4 separate regions of the Homo sapiens genome follow, and regions 2, 3 and 4 are each linked to region 1. The links are contacts of gene promoters, found by promoter capture Hi-C in blood cells and fetal thymus (Javierre and others, 2016). All regions are on one chromosome and are shown on one strand. The core of a region is centred on a gene start or on the middle of the fragment in contact, and the rest is flanking DNA. Distances in the headings are between cores, read along the strand shown.

Region 1 (3,675 bases), core at 576-3,075:
AAATGAATAAATTTGAACTAGAGGAATTATTATAACACGGACAGCTGTCGAAAACACAACAAACGACACACACAGTAGGATACTGGTTTGCGTATATATATGTTTTTTCTTCTGATTTGTCATTGACTTGAATTTCACGCGTATATATCCTTGCAGGAGGATATGCAATCTGAAGCCAAAATGGTGTGATTTTTTTTTTTTTGAGACAGAGTCTTACTCTGTTGCCCAGGCTGGAGTGCAGTGGCGTGATCTCAGCTCACTGCAACGTCTGCCTCCCAGGTTCAAGCAGTTCTCATCCCTCAGCTTCCCAAGTAGCTGGGATTACAGGCATGCGCCACCACGCCAGGCTAATTTTTGTATTTTTAGTAGACGGGGTTTCACCATGTTGGCCAGGCTGGTCTTGAACTCCTGACCTCAAGTGATCCACCCACCCTGGCCTCCCAAAGGGCTGGGATTACAGGCGTGAGCCACTGTGCCCGGCCTATGGTGTGACATTTTTAAACCAGTTTCAATGCCCACCTGCCAGATGGACAGGAATTCCAGGGTCACCTGCTGGGTTGCCCAGAAAGCAGAGTCTTACCTGCTGTGACAGATGGTCTGGTCAACTTCCACAGGCAGGCGGGGGGCCATCTGGGCAGGGCCTGTCCACTGTACCACAAGCTCCTCCCTGCCACAGGTGGCTGCTGTGGGTGCTGCTGGACCCCTGCAGCTGGGTCCCACCTGCCAGCCGTGGGCCAGGTCACGTGGCCTTTCAAAGACAGGCCGAGCTGTGGGCCACTCCCTGTATCTGAGCCACGCCTCACCCGAGACCTCCACATCTGTTTCAGACACCCTGGGTGAGACACGACGGCTGCTGCTCGGGGCTCCTCAGGGGTCCCCGTCTCTGAAAGGCCCCTTCATGGACCAGGGGCCTCTTCCTCACTAAAGCAGAGGAAATAAGGGCACAGATTAGATGGTAAGAGGGGCACCCCTCAGCTGCATCCTAGACCTGGAAGAGAGTGTGACCTGTGCCCCAGAAGAAAGGGAGGGACGTATCTAGCGGTTGATGCTGAGGGCCAAAGCTAGATGGGTCAAGGCCTTTTGTCTGCACTATTATTTTTATTTGTTTTCTTTATTTCTTCCTTTCTTTTTTGAGACAGTGACTCACTCTGTCACCGGGCTGGAATGCAGTGATGCGATCACAGCTCACAGCAGCCTCAAACTCCTGGGCTCAAGCAGTCCTTCCCCCTCAGCCTCCTGAGTAGCTGGGACTACAGGTGTGCACCACCACGCCTGGCTAGTTGTTTTTTGTATTTTTTGTAGAGACTGGGTTTTGCCGTATTGGCCAGGCTGGTCTCAAACTGCTGGACTCAAACGATCCTCCTAGCTCGGCCTCCCAAAGTGCTGGGATTACAGGTGCAAGCCACCATGCCCAGCTAGCACCATTATTTTTATAAAGCTCATCTCTGGTGATACTTGCCCCAGTTTCCCCAGGCCGGAAGTTGACCCCAGGCCCAGCTCTTGAGGGTTTGATGGAAAACCCCAGGAGTAGCAGTGCCTGTGACAATCGCTGACATGTCGAGTTACACGTAATATCCCTGAGCTGCGCGATGGCTGCGTGTGACGCGCTCAGCAGCCTGTGCGGTCGCTCCTGTTGTTATCTCCATTTCATGCCCGTGAAAATGGCAGTAACTGGCAGCAACGTGCTGTGCCACCCTGGGCAACTCCCTTCTCTGGCTGTCTTATGTATAACCAGAAGGGGTTTCTTCTCAAAGCCACAGGCAAGCAGAAGGCACTGTGCAGAGGGCTCAGAGGTACACGGCACAGGGCGGCTCCGTGAGCCCCGGTGGCCAGGACCACTGTCCTGACAGCAAGGGAGGGAGAGACGCCACAGGGCGGGCCTCAGGGGCTTTGCAGGGTGGGCTTGTGCCAGAGTAGGGTATGCTCAGGGAGGGTGCTGAGGGATTTCCCCAGAGTGGTCAGGTGAGGAGGGAAGGGCACTTCTGGTAGAGAAAACAGCAGAACAGAGGGCAACGCTGGCGGAACTGTCCATGGCTGAAGGTGCCGAGGCTGGAGCCTGTCGTGGAAGTCTGGTGGCTGAGTGAGGGGTCACCAGATGGGCACAAGTTGTCCAGGCTGAGGGTGCAGAGATCCCAAAACAACTTTCCTTCCAGGGGCTTGTGAAGGCAGGGCACGCAGGACCCTTCTGTCCCTGCTCCTCACCCGTCACCAAACAGGCCAAGGACAGTTCACAGCAGACACAATATACCAATACCTAGAGAAATGGCCAAGGAGCATAGTAAGTAACTAAGGAAATCCGCTGTCTCCGGGTGGCGGGCTTAGGGGAATCCCCCCAAACTTTTTTAAAATCAGGTTTATTGAGGTACAGGTTGAGCGTCCCAAAGCTGTAAATCCAAAACCCCAAACATTCCAAGCACCGACATGACGCTCAAAGGGAATGCTTATTGGCGCGTTTGGGATTTCAGATTTTTGAATTTTTGAGTTAGGGATGCTGAACTGGTAAATATACTGCAAAGATTACAAAATATGAAAAAATCCAAAATTCAAAACATCTGGTCCAAGCATTTCAGATAATGGATCCTCAACCTGTATCATTCATATCCAGTGAGTTTTTCTTTTCTTTTCTTTTTTTAGAGACAGGGTTTTGCTCTGTTGTCCAGGCCAAAGTGCAGTGGCGCAATCATAGCTCATTGCAGCCTTGAACTCCTGGGCTCAAGCATCTTCCCACCTCAGCACTGTGAATAGCTGGGACTACAGGCATGCACCACCATGCCCAGCTAATTTTTAATTTTTTGGTAGAGATGGGGTCTCGCTGTATCACCCAGGCTGGGACAGTCTTGTTTCCACCACCAGAATCAACACAGAGAATATGACCCCAGAAAGTTCCCTGGCCCCAGGCAACCACTCACCTGTTTTCTGTCTCAATGGTGTTGCCGTTTCCAGACTTTCCCATGAAACAGTCAGATAGTGTGTTGCCCTGTGAGTCCGGCTTCTTTCACACGGAGGAATGCGTTTGAGATTCATCTGTCAGTTGCATGTACCAGGAGTTTGGTCCTTTTTGTTGCTAAGTGGTCTTCCATTGTGTGGGTAAACCACAAGTTTGTTGTTGATGAGTTCCCCAGTTGAAGGGCGTGTGGTTGTTTGCAATTTTTGGTGATGGTAGAAAGCTGCAATGAACAGGTTTTTGTGTGGACATATGTCTTCATTTCTCTCTCCTAATCCCAACTTTTGTCCACATGCATTTTCTAGTGCTTCTGTAATAAACCAGTATTATTTATGCCATGAAAGTCACAATTTTAAAATATGCAAAGTAAAGCAACTATGAGATATCATTTTCTGCCTCTCAAACCAGCAAGGAGTTTTTAAATGATAGCATTCAGCTTTGTCGCAGGCACTGTGTGTCAACCATGCAGCCTTTCTGGAGAGGAACTGGGCAGAATAAGCTGGACATGGGCGTGTCTTTGGGCGGTGCCTTCACTTCTAGGGATGCAGGTTAAGCTGGACATGGGCGTGTCTTTGGGCGGTGGCTTCACTTCTAGGGATGCAGGTATTCGCTGGACAGATGTTTGTTAAGCTCCCTGGTGCCAGGCCCAGGGAGTTGGTCGTGGGTGAGACCCCAGAGACCCCAGAGCACATTCAGCAGGGACAAGGCAATTGTCATGCAATTATCTATGC
Region 2 (3,675 bases), core at 334-2,833, 630 kb before region 1:
AGAAGGTTTGAGGAATAGTGGTTCTTCCTAGAGACCATAAAGAGCCACAACACAAATGATAGTGAAAAACGGGTTTCAATTTCCATTGAAAATACTCTAAGATACACAGGTTTGAGAATTATATTTTTCTAATTGTAACATTTTGAATTTCATTTCAATGCTGCTGTCCTAAGACAAGTATGAGAAATTAATCCTAGGTCTCCACACCTTAAGATACACTGTGTAAGGCCAGGCATGGTGGCTCACGCCTGTAATCCCAGCACTTTGGGAGGCCGAGGCAGGAGGATCACCTGAGGTCACAAGTTCGACGTCAGCCTGGCCAACATGGTGAAACCCCACCTCTACTAAAAATACAAAAATCACCCGGGCATGGTGGCAGACGCCTGTAATCCCAGCTACTGCGGAGGCTGAGGCAAGAGAATCCCTTGAACCCGAGAGGCGGAGGTTGCAGTGGGCCGAGATCGCGCCATTGCACTCCAGCCTGGGTGACAGAACAAGACAAAAAAAAAAAAAGATACACTGGGTAATCACTAACCCATTATTCCTTGTGGCGTTACGAGGTCGGACCAATCCTTGATATCCTCAAATTTCACCTTAATGAGGCTGACACCTTTCAGCTTATCGACTGGCAACTCCTTTAGGTATTCTAGACGGCTAAAGAAGAACATTTTTGGCACAGCTCCAGCCTTGAGAGCGTCTGAAATGAGCCTGCGACCTTCCAGCAGGATCTTCCCTTGTTTTTCCCGAAATGGCCTGGACTTTACTATTGTCATTACACTGCTGTAGATGGAAATAAAAAAAAAAAACAGGTAACTATCAACATCCTTGTTACTGAGACACGCTTAGTTGTAACAGAAATAAAGAGCTACGGAGAGGGCCGGGCGCGGTGGCTCACGCCTGTAATCCCAGCACATTGGGAGGCCGAGGCGGGCGGATCACCTGAGGTCAGGAGTTCCAGATCAGCCTGGCTAACATGGTGAAACAAAAACAACAACAAAGAGCTAAGGAGAAACAGAAGCTAATTCCAAAGACGCTTATTCGGCCCTCTGTGCATAATACAAAAACCAGCGGGCTGTACTGGAAGAAGTCCTCCATCGGAAGGAGGTTAAGGTTCCGCTGTGCGACGGGAAGGGAAACGAGAACATTCGACAGGCTCAAGAACCACATCACCTCAGCCTCCTGTCCCCGGGATAAGCTTTATCGTAGCGAAGCCCAGACTCTTCCCAGGTGCTGGGAGCGCGGGATGCGGACTCCTCGAGCGGTTGTTTCTCTCGTTGCTCCTGGGCACTGGCCTCAGATGGTGCCTTGCGGGGCTGCTTCCCAGGAGCGCGCTTCTGTTCCACCACCTCTCCGGAAGGAAACACCACTTTCACTGGGCTCCGCCGCAGCGCCCGGACCCAGCGCCTCGCGTCAAGGTCCCAAGCCTGGACCACCTGCAGCAACGGTCGCACGACAAACCTCGCGGGTCTCACCAGCGCCGCCATGTTCCCTGAGACCCGGGCTGCGTCACGAAAGCGCGCCGTCGGCGGCTAGTGACGTCACGGCCCGTGGCGCCCTTCGTGGACTGGGCTGTACGGTGCGCGTGACGGCTGCGTGCGGCGGGAATCATGGCTGCTCGCAGAGCTCTGCACTTCGTATTCAAAGTGGGAAACCGCTTCCAGACGGCGCGTTTCTATCGGGACGTCCTGGGGATGAAGGTGCAGGCCGGGGCCGACAGGGGCTGGCGCGCGAGGCTGGAACCGGCGCCCGAGCCGGCCCTGGCGGAGGGAGGGGAAAATGGGTGTGTCGTGAACCTAAGCCGGAGGGTGTCCGACCTTAGGCCCTGCGCGGTGTTCAGCTTCAGGAGCGTGGCGAGTTGCCGTTGGGGATCATAGGCCTTGGAGAAGGGCCTAACACGATTAGTCCCCGCGGTGTGCCCACGCACGTCCTTTCATTTAAGCCACTCGTAAACGTTTATTGAGCCCCGCCCTTGTGGAGCTTACCGTCTACCGGAAAAGACGGTAAATAAAATGTTATATAATGCTTTCTAGTTAATATTTGTGTTTTCCGGTTTGGAGCCTTTGATGTAGATAAAATCAGCGTATTCAGAGTTCTGCTTCTAGCAAGGCTGGTCTGAATAGTCCGTTTCGGATACTCAGTCTCTGAATATATGCTCCAACTCTCAACCCATCTGCTTTTCAACAGCACCCAGAAGCGGTCTGTCTCGGGTCCTGAGGAGCTGTTATTTGCAGGATTCAGTTGGTTGGGGAACTGGGTTTTGGGGACCTCCTTTGATAAGCCAGGGAGGTAGGGAACACACCACTAAGGAAGACTTGAAAGGTGCAAGAGCGCGGTTTAGTGTATAGACGGTGCAATAGACGGGGATCTGAATTCGTCAGGTCATTTTTAAAATATCTGCTATTTTCAGGGTACTACGTTGAGTTTTGGCAACAAAGGTGCAAATGACCCTGATATATATCCTCCATTAGAGCTCATGGCCTGGGTTGGGGTGGGAGTTGGAACTGGATTTGTACGTAGATGATGGTAATGGAAGTCAGAATTTGATAGTGAAAAACCACCAAACTTTCGATAGCAGAAACCACAGAGCTGTCCCTTGTTAGTATTTCCTCGTCGATCAAAAGGTTGTTGCAAAGATTAAACACGTGCCGGCGCGGTGGCCCACGCCTGTAATCTCAGCACTTTGGGAGGCCAAGGCGGGTGGATCACTGGAGGTCAGGAGTTGGACACCAGCCTGGCCAACATGGTGAAACCCTGTCTCTACTAAAAATACAAAAATTAGCCGGGCATGGTGGCACACGCCTGTAATCCCAGCTACTCGGGAGGCTGAGGCAAGAGAATCGCCTGTATCTGGGAGGCGGAGGTTGCAGTGAGCCGAGATCGCACCATTGTGTTCCAGCCTGGATGACGAAAGCAAAACTCCGTCTCAAAAAAAAAAAAAAAAAAAAGATTCAACACCTTATTATATGTATAGTATTTAACATATCGGTAATAGTAGATTATATAAGTGTTAGCCACTATTATAAAAATACAAAAGAAGGAGCGGTTTTCCAACCTGGGTGATGAGGAAATAATTCATGTAGACCTTGTATTCGAGTTGACTTTTTTTTTTTTTTTTTTTTTTGAGGTGGAGTCTTGCTCTGTCGCCAGGCTGGAGTGCAGTGGCGCGATCTCGGCTCACTGTAAGCTCAGCCTCCCGGGTTCACACCATTCTCCTGCCTCAGCCTCCCGAGTAGCTGGGACCACAGGCGCGTACCACAACACCCGGCTAATTTTTAAAAATATTTTTAGTAGAGACGGGGTTTCACCGTGTTAGCCAGGATTCGAGTTGACGTCTAAAGATAGGATATCCACAGGTAGATGAGAGGAGGAGCTACATAGTAAAACTGAAGAGCCAGTGCGGAGATGGCACATGTTTGCGAAGCCGCTGGTTTTATGTGCCTTTAGTTGAGGTTGCTTAGTTGAAGTTAAGGAGATGGGATATCAGGATGGACAGGTCGGCATTGCTTCTAATAGTATCTTGAATGCTATGCTAAAGAATTTGGATTTTATGCTGCAGTAAGATGGGAGCTCACTTATGTTCTTAAACAGGGTGGTGATGGGATCAGTGCTTTGTGCTTTAGGCATGTGCTTTTTTGGTGTTATTAAGGAAGGATATCAATAAGGATTTTTTTATTT
Region 3 (3,675 bases), core at 694-3,193, 600 kb before region 1:
GCTCTTGCAACAAATCCCACATAGACATCCATATGCATATTGTCCCACCGTCCCCTAAGCAGAAACCAGGGTTAAGTACAGAATAGTCCCGGGAACATTTTGGTTGCCCGGCCTTAGGTGAGCCTTTCTGGGGCTGGGATTTTGACACCATCTGCTCCATTGTTTCTAAACTGCTGTGTTCTGGCGCATCAATTGTTTCATCACATTATCATCACGGAAAGCTTGGTCTCCCTCAAAACATGAACCGGGTAGGCCCTGTGTTCCAGTGGGGGCTTTTGGACTTGACTTTAGTGTTTAGGAGGACAGAGTCCCTCTCCCCTCTGTGGTGCTGGGGTATTAGTAAATCAGCCTTGAAGAGATAAGGGGCTGGGGCCTCAACCTCCCAAGAGGCTGTCACTGGAGAATGGTCTCCTGCCCTCAGATCTTGGGCATTTCCACAGCACACTGTCCCCCTCGTCCTTCCAAATACCTACATACGCTCTTGTAATAGGAGAGCTGGGAACTCCACCCAAAACCATACAAAAAGTTAGTCTGTGTATTTGGACGCCTCCCCAGCACTCAGTCACCGAGTTTCTCCTTTCCAACAGCAGTCACTCTCATGCAGTTTAAGTGATTTATTGATGTCTCGGCTAAGCTTGCGACAGTTTCAGGACATTTCAGCCATCAAGGTCTAAGAAGCCCTTTCCATTCCCGAGGAGCCCTCAGCCAGCCTCCTTCTTCCTCATCTCCTCACTCTGGCCGCGTAGCCCCTCATGGCGTCCATCTTGGACGCCCCTTTGTTCGCGCTCCACGCCCCCCACTTCCTTCTTCGTCAGCTCCTCCACTTTGGCCGCGTAGCCCCTCATGGCGTCCATCTTGGACGCCCCTTTGTTCGCGCTCCACGCCCCCCACTTCCTTCTTCGTCAGCTCCTCCACTTTGGCCGCGTAGCCCCTCATGGCGTCCATCTTGGACGCCCCTTTGTTCGCGCTCCACGCCCCCCACTTCCTTCTTCGTCAGCTCCTCCACTTTGGCCGCGTAGCCCCTCATGGCGTCCATCTTGCACGCCCCTTTGTTCGCGCTCCACGCCCCCCACTTCCTTCTTCGTCAGCTCCTCCACTTTGGCCGCGTAGCCCCTCATGGCGTCCATCTTGGACGCCCCTTTTTTCGCGCTCCAAGCCTCCCACTTGGCCCTGGCTCTCACGTCTGAGGCCGGAGGGCCGGGGATGTCGCAGTCGCCCTGGGTGGCCTGTTTGTACAAGCCGTAGACCAGCAGCTTCTCCTGATCGCTCACGGGACCCTTCAGCTGCTTGAGGGCCGCGCAGCTCGAACTCCACTTGGCACATGGGGTGGTGGAGGCGGTCCCTGGTGCTAGAAGCTGGAGGTGGAGAGTTGGAGTGGCTGTTACTACTCGATCTCAGGGGGAGGAGACAGGCACGCGATGTTTGTGTTTTGTCAAGCACAGATTGCAAGCTCGGGGTCCAGCGTAAACCCCACCATGTTTGGGCTCACACGGCGCATTTTCTGGGGAGGACCAGCCGTCAAAAAGCGTCTAGGATCCGGAACGCTGCTGTCTGGAGGGGGCGGCGCGGCAGGAGCGCGTTGAGGGACTGTATGTGGCGCGAGCTGGGCGGGTGGGAGTGGAAGCCTCGCGTGGTGCGGCCGCGCTGGGTGGTGGGCGTCCCGGGGGAGGCGCTCGGTGGGGGTGAACTGTGTGCGGGGCACGCCCGGGGTTACCGGGTGAGGGTGAATGCGGGGCCGGGGAATCATGAGCCCGACCCGCTGGGACCCCGGAAGAGGGGCCGGGCAGGGGACGGTGCGGAGGGGTCTAGTGAGCGACGTCCGGGTACCTGAGGGCTGGTGGGAGGGCTCTGCCGGAAGGCGGCGCTGTGCGCTTGGCGCGCTCGTTCGTGAGGACTGCGCGTGCGCGGCGGAGGCTGTGGGCGGGGCCGGGCGGAGGTTGTGAGCAGGCCTAAGCGCGGCCGCCGTGGCTCCTGCGTCTCCCATCGTGCCGTGCGTCCCGCGCCGCGTTCGAGTTCTCGGAGGGGAGGGGGCGTTAGCCCCGCGCAGCCGCCGGCGTCGCCGCCATGGACCTAGGTGGGTGCCGCGGCTCCCCGGCCCCGGGCTGCGTCCAGCAATGCGCCACCAGAGCGGTGCTGCCCCGTCGCGTCTCCTCCTGTCGCGCACGCTCGCGCGGGCCCGGACCGAAACGTCCCCCGCGTCGGGGCGGGTCTAGGGGTCCCGGGGTGGCCTTGGCGGGGGGTGGTCCGGGTCCCGCCGCGCGTTGGGCCGCGTCTTGCCGCCTCCGGCCCCCTGCGCTTGAAAACACGGAGCAGACGTGAAGTTAGAGCCCTTGGAAGCGCCCGGGGCTCGCGCACGTGCTTTGGGAAACGGGCTCCCTCCGAGCACCCCTGGGCGCCCCGACGGCCTCATTTCCTGAACGGCAGCTGCGTTCTTGAGCAAGTGTCTTAACGCTCCAAGTGTCTTACGCTCATGACGTTTCCTCATCGACAGAGCGGGGAGAATGGAAGTGTGTCTCCCCACTGAGTTTTGGGCGACTTTGCATTGAGATCGCCGAGGTACAGTGTCCCTTGTGGGGTTGCGCGGGTCACACCCGCGGTGGGGGCGGCTGCGCTCCTGAGGTATCACTTTGTGAACCTGCGTGCGTCCGGATTCAGAATCTTACAGGCAAGGTCTGGGAGGGAGCCCATAGGAACTAGATGCTCCCTGCTAAATCTTGGCACACGCTGCTAAGACCAGGAGGCTGTTCTGGGAGAGCTGGGGGTGAGGCACCCCGAGATGTGTCAGCAGTAGTAGGCTGGGGGGAAATGGTCTGGTCCCCGCCCCCAGACAGCTTTTCAGGAGCGGAATGGCAGAGCTCTAAGGGCTTGGAGCCCCTCAGCCGTAATTGCTTCCCAGCCCCACCACATTCAGGCTGGGACACCCTCAGCAAATCGTTTCTGCGCCTCAGTGTCCTTATCTCTAGAGCAGGAATACTAGTCCTCAAAAGGTGATTGTGAATAGAAGAGATCTTACCTGTGTACCACCTAGCACAGTGTCTGGCATGGAGTAGGTGCTTAATAAACCTAAGAAGCGGGCTGTGGCAAGCACTAGTTAACCATCCATGATAGAGTACCGGAGTATTTTCCAGCTAGTAACCGCCCTGGGACTTACTACTTCAAACTGTGCGTACTTAATGCGCCTGGAAGGCAGGTGTTTAGGGCCAAACATCTGCTCAACTAAGCCAATAATGCAATAAAATTAAATTTACAGCGTCAGGAGGGACTATATTTTGGGACCCTGGGAGAGCCTCCTGAGCCAGAAAGAAGGGCGGTAACCCCCAGGGAGGTCCCCTTCGCAGCGTAACCCTCCCTGGGAGTCGGTCTCAGCCACTGTGAGATGAGATGGATTGCCTCCACAAGTGGGTTACATAGTGCTGAGCCCTTGGCCTGCTGCCGCTCCCATAAATGGTGGGAGGGGTAAGATGGTCCTTAGTCTCCTGGAGTCAGTGTTTTCTCTGCTGGTGTCTGGCCTGTGAAAATGGGGAATATGAGCTCTTGGGGGCATGACAGACTGAGGAAGGAGTAGCATCTCTCACTCCTGGGAAAGGGGAGATGACTCAGGAATGAGGAATAGGGAGCAGTGTTTGCACCCTCGTTTTAGTTTCTGGGCCAAAGGAAACATACCTGATAAAGACC
Region 4 (3,675 bases), core at 325-2,824, 580 kb before region 1:
TGTACCCAGCCACACCAATATTAACCTTTGGTGTCTACAATCGATGTCACTTGATCTATCGTAGCATCTACTTATTCATCGCCAATAGCCAGTTTTGTTTTTAAAAAGGCAGAAGAAAAGCACAAAAATCATGACAGCAGGATTGATCCCAGGTAAGACCGCAGGCTAGAGTGAGACGGACAGCTTGCTCAGGCCCCTCGCAGTTCAGTCTCAGCAGGTGAGAAGCAGGACTTGGCAGAGCCCACAGGAGAGCAGGGCCTGGAAAGGCCGTTCAACTTCCTGCACATCCGACTGTGGTCCTTCAACTTGGGAGAAAGTGAGTGTGATTCCAGCAAGACCGGTGGGGAAAAAAAAGGCTTGAAATAATAAAAGCACCACCATTGTCCAGGTCTAACTACTGTACAAAGTCGACTATTCTGGTCTTAATTTATGATTTGTTTCACTGGAACTGCAGATAGGTGCACATTTCCTGACCTGCCTCTGGACTGACCTCTGATAGACGTACAAGTCCGTGTTCTAAGCGCTGGGAACCTCTCAATCACCTTTAGCAAATCTGCAGGAAAAGCAAGAGCGGCGTTTGCGTGGAAGGGGGTGGTGGGTTGGTTCCTTTCCATGGAGGGGGCTCTGCTAACCACACTGGACGTCTGTTAGCCAGTGATGCTCCAGAGTGAGAACCCAGTGAAGCCAACTGCAAGAATCAAGCCACACTCCCAGTCGTAAATGCTTCCACGCTTATCTCTTCCATGAAGGACCTGGATCCCTGGCTCACACCACCTGAAATCAGACTCCGACTCTGTCGTCCTCCCTCATTTCCGTGGACTTTCTCCTAAGCTGGGGGTGCCCGAAGACTCCGGAGAGGAAGAAGGAGCCCATTGTGGTGCCAGCTTTTCCCATTAGTCAGCTTTCTGAGCGCGTGTGCTGCGAGAGCCAGAGCCTGCGAGCTACTGAAATGTGACATTTGCAACAAGGCCCCGGCCCGGGCTCTTACCTGCCGGTGATCACGTCGTCGCAGGAGCGAATGATGACGATCCCCGAGCCGGTGGCCAGCACGGCGTGCACCGAGGAAACCAGCCTAGCGCGGGCGGAGAGAACAGCGCGCGCGCTCAGTCCGGTCCGAGGACCGCAGGGAGCCCGGCCCGGCCCTTCGGCCTGACTCTCCCCAGCCGCAGGCAGATGTGGGGAGCGGGCTCCGGAGGCTCATCGGCCATTCCCGCCCGCCCCGGCCCCGCTCCCGCCAGGGGAGGACGCGGAGGGGCTTCGGAAACTCGGGCCGCCGGGACGCGGAGGGAGCAGCCCCCGGGCTTCCTGCCGCCCCCCTTTTCCGCCCTGGGCCCCGCGGCCGGGTGGGGTGCGGTGGGCAGCGCCCCGGGCCTCGGGGGGCGTCTCGGCGGCGCCGGTACCTGGTGCTGATCATCACGCAGTCGGTGCGGCTCCATCCGGGCTGGGAGCGGCGCAGCGCCCAGGTGCAGAGCGCGAAGAGCCCCGGGAAGAAGAGCGCGCCCCCGGCCAGCGTCAGCAGCATCGGGGCTGCGGGTCCGGCCGCCTCGCTGGCGCCGCGTGGCTGGGTTCGGCTCGGCGCGCCCCGGCCCGGCCGCGCGATTTCAACCCTCCGCCCCCGTCCCCGTCCCGCCTCCGCCCGGCGCTGGCCCCGATCCCGCGGCGCGGCTCTGCGCGTGACCAGGCCCGGCGGCTGCGATAGGGCGGGGCGGGGTCTCTCGCGGTCCCTGGGCCCGGAGGGTTCCCCGGCGTCCCCGGCGGGCGGGTGGGCGGGGGCGGAGGCGGGGACCGAGGCGGCGGCTGTGGCCGGGGCCGCGGCGCGCGCGCGTTCCGAGTCCGCCGCTCCCTCCCGAGCGGCCGCGGGGCCCAGGCGGAGGCGGGAAGGGCCGCGGCTCCCGGCTTCTGTTCCGTCAGCGGACGCGCCCCTCCCCGACCTGCTCTTCTCGCCGGCCCCGGGCGAAGGGGCGGGGTGGGCGCGGGGCCGAGGAAGCCAGGTAGGAACCCCCTCCGGGGTGGGGCGAGGCCCGCGGGGAAGGAAGGAGGGAGGCGGCGTGTGGCCCTGGGTTCGCGGGCCCCGTCCACCAAGCCCTGGTGCTTCTCGGTGGGAGGCCTCAGGATGTGGCCTCTCCCCGCACGGCCGAGATGCTTTTCCCGGTGCCGCCAGCGGCTGCAGCCGCTCCGGGGTGGCCCTCAGGAAGCGTGAGGTCCGGGGGCCTCCAGCAGCCCCTCTCCACCTGCACCAGGAGGCGGACTGTGGAGGCTGCAGGCTCTTACTGCCTCTCGGCTTTGGATCTATCCGGAGACACCATCCAGAGGCGTAGGGACTGTGGTGTTGTTCACAACGTGTCGTTATTTAAAAGTATCGGGGTCGGGCGCGCCTGTAACCCCAGCACTTGGGGAGGCCGAGGCGGGCAGATCACTTGACGTCAGGAGTTCGAGACCAGCCTGACCACCACGGTGAAACCCCGTCTCTACTAAAAATACAAAATTAGCCAGGTGTGGTGGTGCCTGTCTGTAGTCCCAGCTACTCTGGAGGCTGAGGCAGGAGAATCGCTTGAACCTGGGAGGCAGAGGTTGCAGTGAGCCGAGATCACGCCACTGCACTCCAGCCTGGGCCACAGAGCAGGACTCTGTCTCAAAAAACAAACAAACAAACAAACAAAAAAACAGTTATCGGGACAGGCGTCTAAACTTGAATGAATTGGAATACATTTCATTTGTGCCAAGCACCAATCACATGGATGAAGACAGGAATTTCAGTATCATTGGCTTCTGTCCTTTAGGAACTACCAGCTTTATTTTGCTTTGGTCTGTATCTTCCTCAGCTAACAAACGTAGGGGGTGGGAAATACAGTTCATTTATGTTACTACAAATGAAAGGTATGACGGGTCTCCTCAGATCACCGTCATGCAAAATGCTGACCAAAATCCCGTATGAGGACTTCGGAACAGCTGGGCTCGGCTCTCTGGGCCACGATTTGCTGGTCCGTGAAATGAGAGGGAGGCTGGATCACTAGCTCTTTAACGGTCTTCCAGCTCTAGATTCTTATGAGTCTATGACTTTTACAAAGTGGCAGATGATTTCTGTTAGGTGCCAGTTAAATTACTTTAACACGGCAGTTAGTGATGTAGGAACTGGTGTAGAGTGAGCACAGCTTTTGTTTTTTTCAATTTGGATTCATTCATGATGGAGTCTGAAGATGTTTCTCAGGTTTAAAAGATAGTTTTCCTTCAGTGGTAGTATCAGTTACTAGGCTGTGACCTTTTGGAATGAATGTAGCCTCTAACATCTTCCTATATGTGGTTAAGAAAAGGGACTTAGCCAACAGGACGGTGGCAGACAGCCTCAAGAAAAGCCTCAAACTTCGTCCACTTAGGGCAACATCTCTAACTCCCAAATTCACTGCTGACATACTCAGTGAAAGGAGAAAGCCACTTCAGGTTGGTCCCAAGATATCTGACAAATGCGACGCTCTCTTTATTTTCACATTCGCTTGTGGACAAAACCAGCTACCTGTGAACTCTCCATTCTCTCCAGGAAAACGACTCTGTGCAGTCCACTGTCTCTTTCCTAAGCATTTATCACAGTGACCTCCAGCGCCAGTGTTTCCAGAGAGTGACAGGTGGTTACAAGTCCTCCCTGCCTTCCCTCCTTAAAGGGAGCAGCAGCTTGGCAGT

Evidence for each region. The method cuts DNA at HindIII sites, captures the fragments that hold promoters and counts their contacts. A CHiCAGO score of 5 or more calls a contact.
Region 2: the fragment with the promoter of GLOD4 here is called in contact with a fragment that was not itself captured in region 1 in 7 of 17 cell types (neutrophils, endothelial precursors, M0 macrophages and 4 more); the score reaches 12.7 in neutrophils.
Region 3: a contact is called between the fragment with the promoter of GEMIN4 here and a fragment that was not itself captured in region 1, in 5 of 17 cell types (neutrophils, M0 macrophages, monocytes and 2 more). The highest score is 12.6, in neutrophils.
Region 4: a contact is called between the fragment with the promoter of TLCD3A here and a fragment that was not itself captured in region 1, in 2 of 17 cell types (neutrophils and monocytes). The highest score is 6.9, in neutrophils.

The regions. Positions count from the first base shown.
Region 1 is chr17:150,228-153,902 of GRCh38, reverse strand. All of the region lies in intron 6 of DOC2B (double C2 domain beta), which reads left to right. Among named protein-coding and RNA genes, the nearest start is that of SCGB1C2, 14 kb to the right of the region's middle. The HindIII fragment of the contact is 3,739 bases long and covers 1-3,675 here.
Region 2 is chr17:780,188-783,862 of GRCh38, reverse strand. GLOD4 (glyoxalase domain containing 4) reads left to right here and starts at 1,583. Exons shown (of 9, transcript NM_016080.4): 1 at 1,583-1,697. The coding sequence starts at 1,608. It overlaps MRM3 (mitochondrial rRNA methyltransferase 3), which reads right to left and starts at 1,510. Exons shown (of 4, transcript NM_018146.4): 1 at 1,171-1,510; 2 at 536-780. The coding sequence starts at 1,484. RefSeq lists enhancers at 983-1,531, 1,203-1,552, 2,553-2,652. The HindIII fragment of the contact is 3,821 bases long and covers 1,198-3,675 here.
Region 3 is chr17:750,532-754,206 of GRCh38, reverse strand. GEMIN4 (gem nuclear organelle associated protein 4) reads left to right here and starts at 1,943. Exons shown (of 2, transcript NM_015721.3): 1 at 1,943-2,074. The coding sequence starts at 2,065. It also overlaps the pseudogene DBIL5P. RefSeq lists silencers at 1,564-1,823, 2,004-2,423 and an enhancer at 2,604-2,663. The HindIII fragment of the contact is 5,891 bases long and covers 637-3,675 here.
Region 4 is chr17:730,495-734,169 of GRCh38, reverse strand. TLCD3A (TLC domain containing 3A) reads right to left here and starts at 1,574. Exons shown (of 5, transcript NM_024792.3): 1 at 1,401-1,574; 2 at 989-1,072. The coding sequence starts at 1,522. It overlaps LOC124903893 (a long non-coding RNA gene), which reads left to right and starts at 1,790. Exons shown (of 2, transcript XR_007065572.1): 1 at 1,790-1,991. RefSeq lists silencers at 1,158-1,257, 1,328-1,597, 1,618-2,097. The HindIII fragment of the contact is 13,049 bases long and covers 1-3,675 here.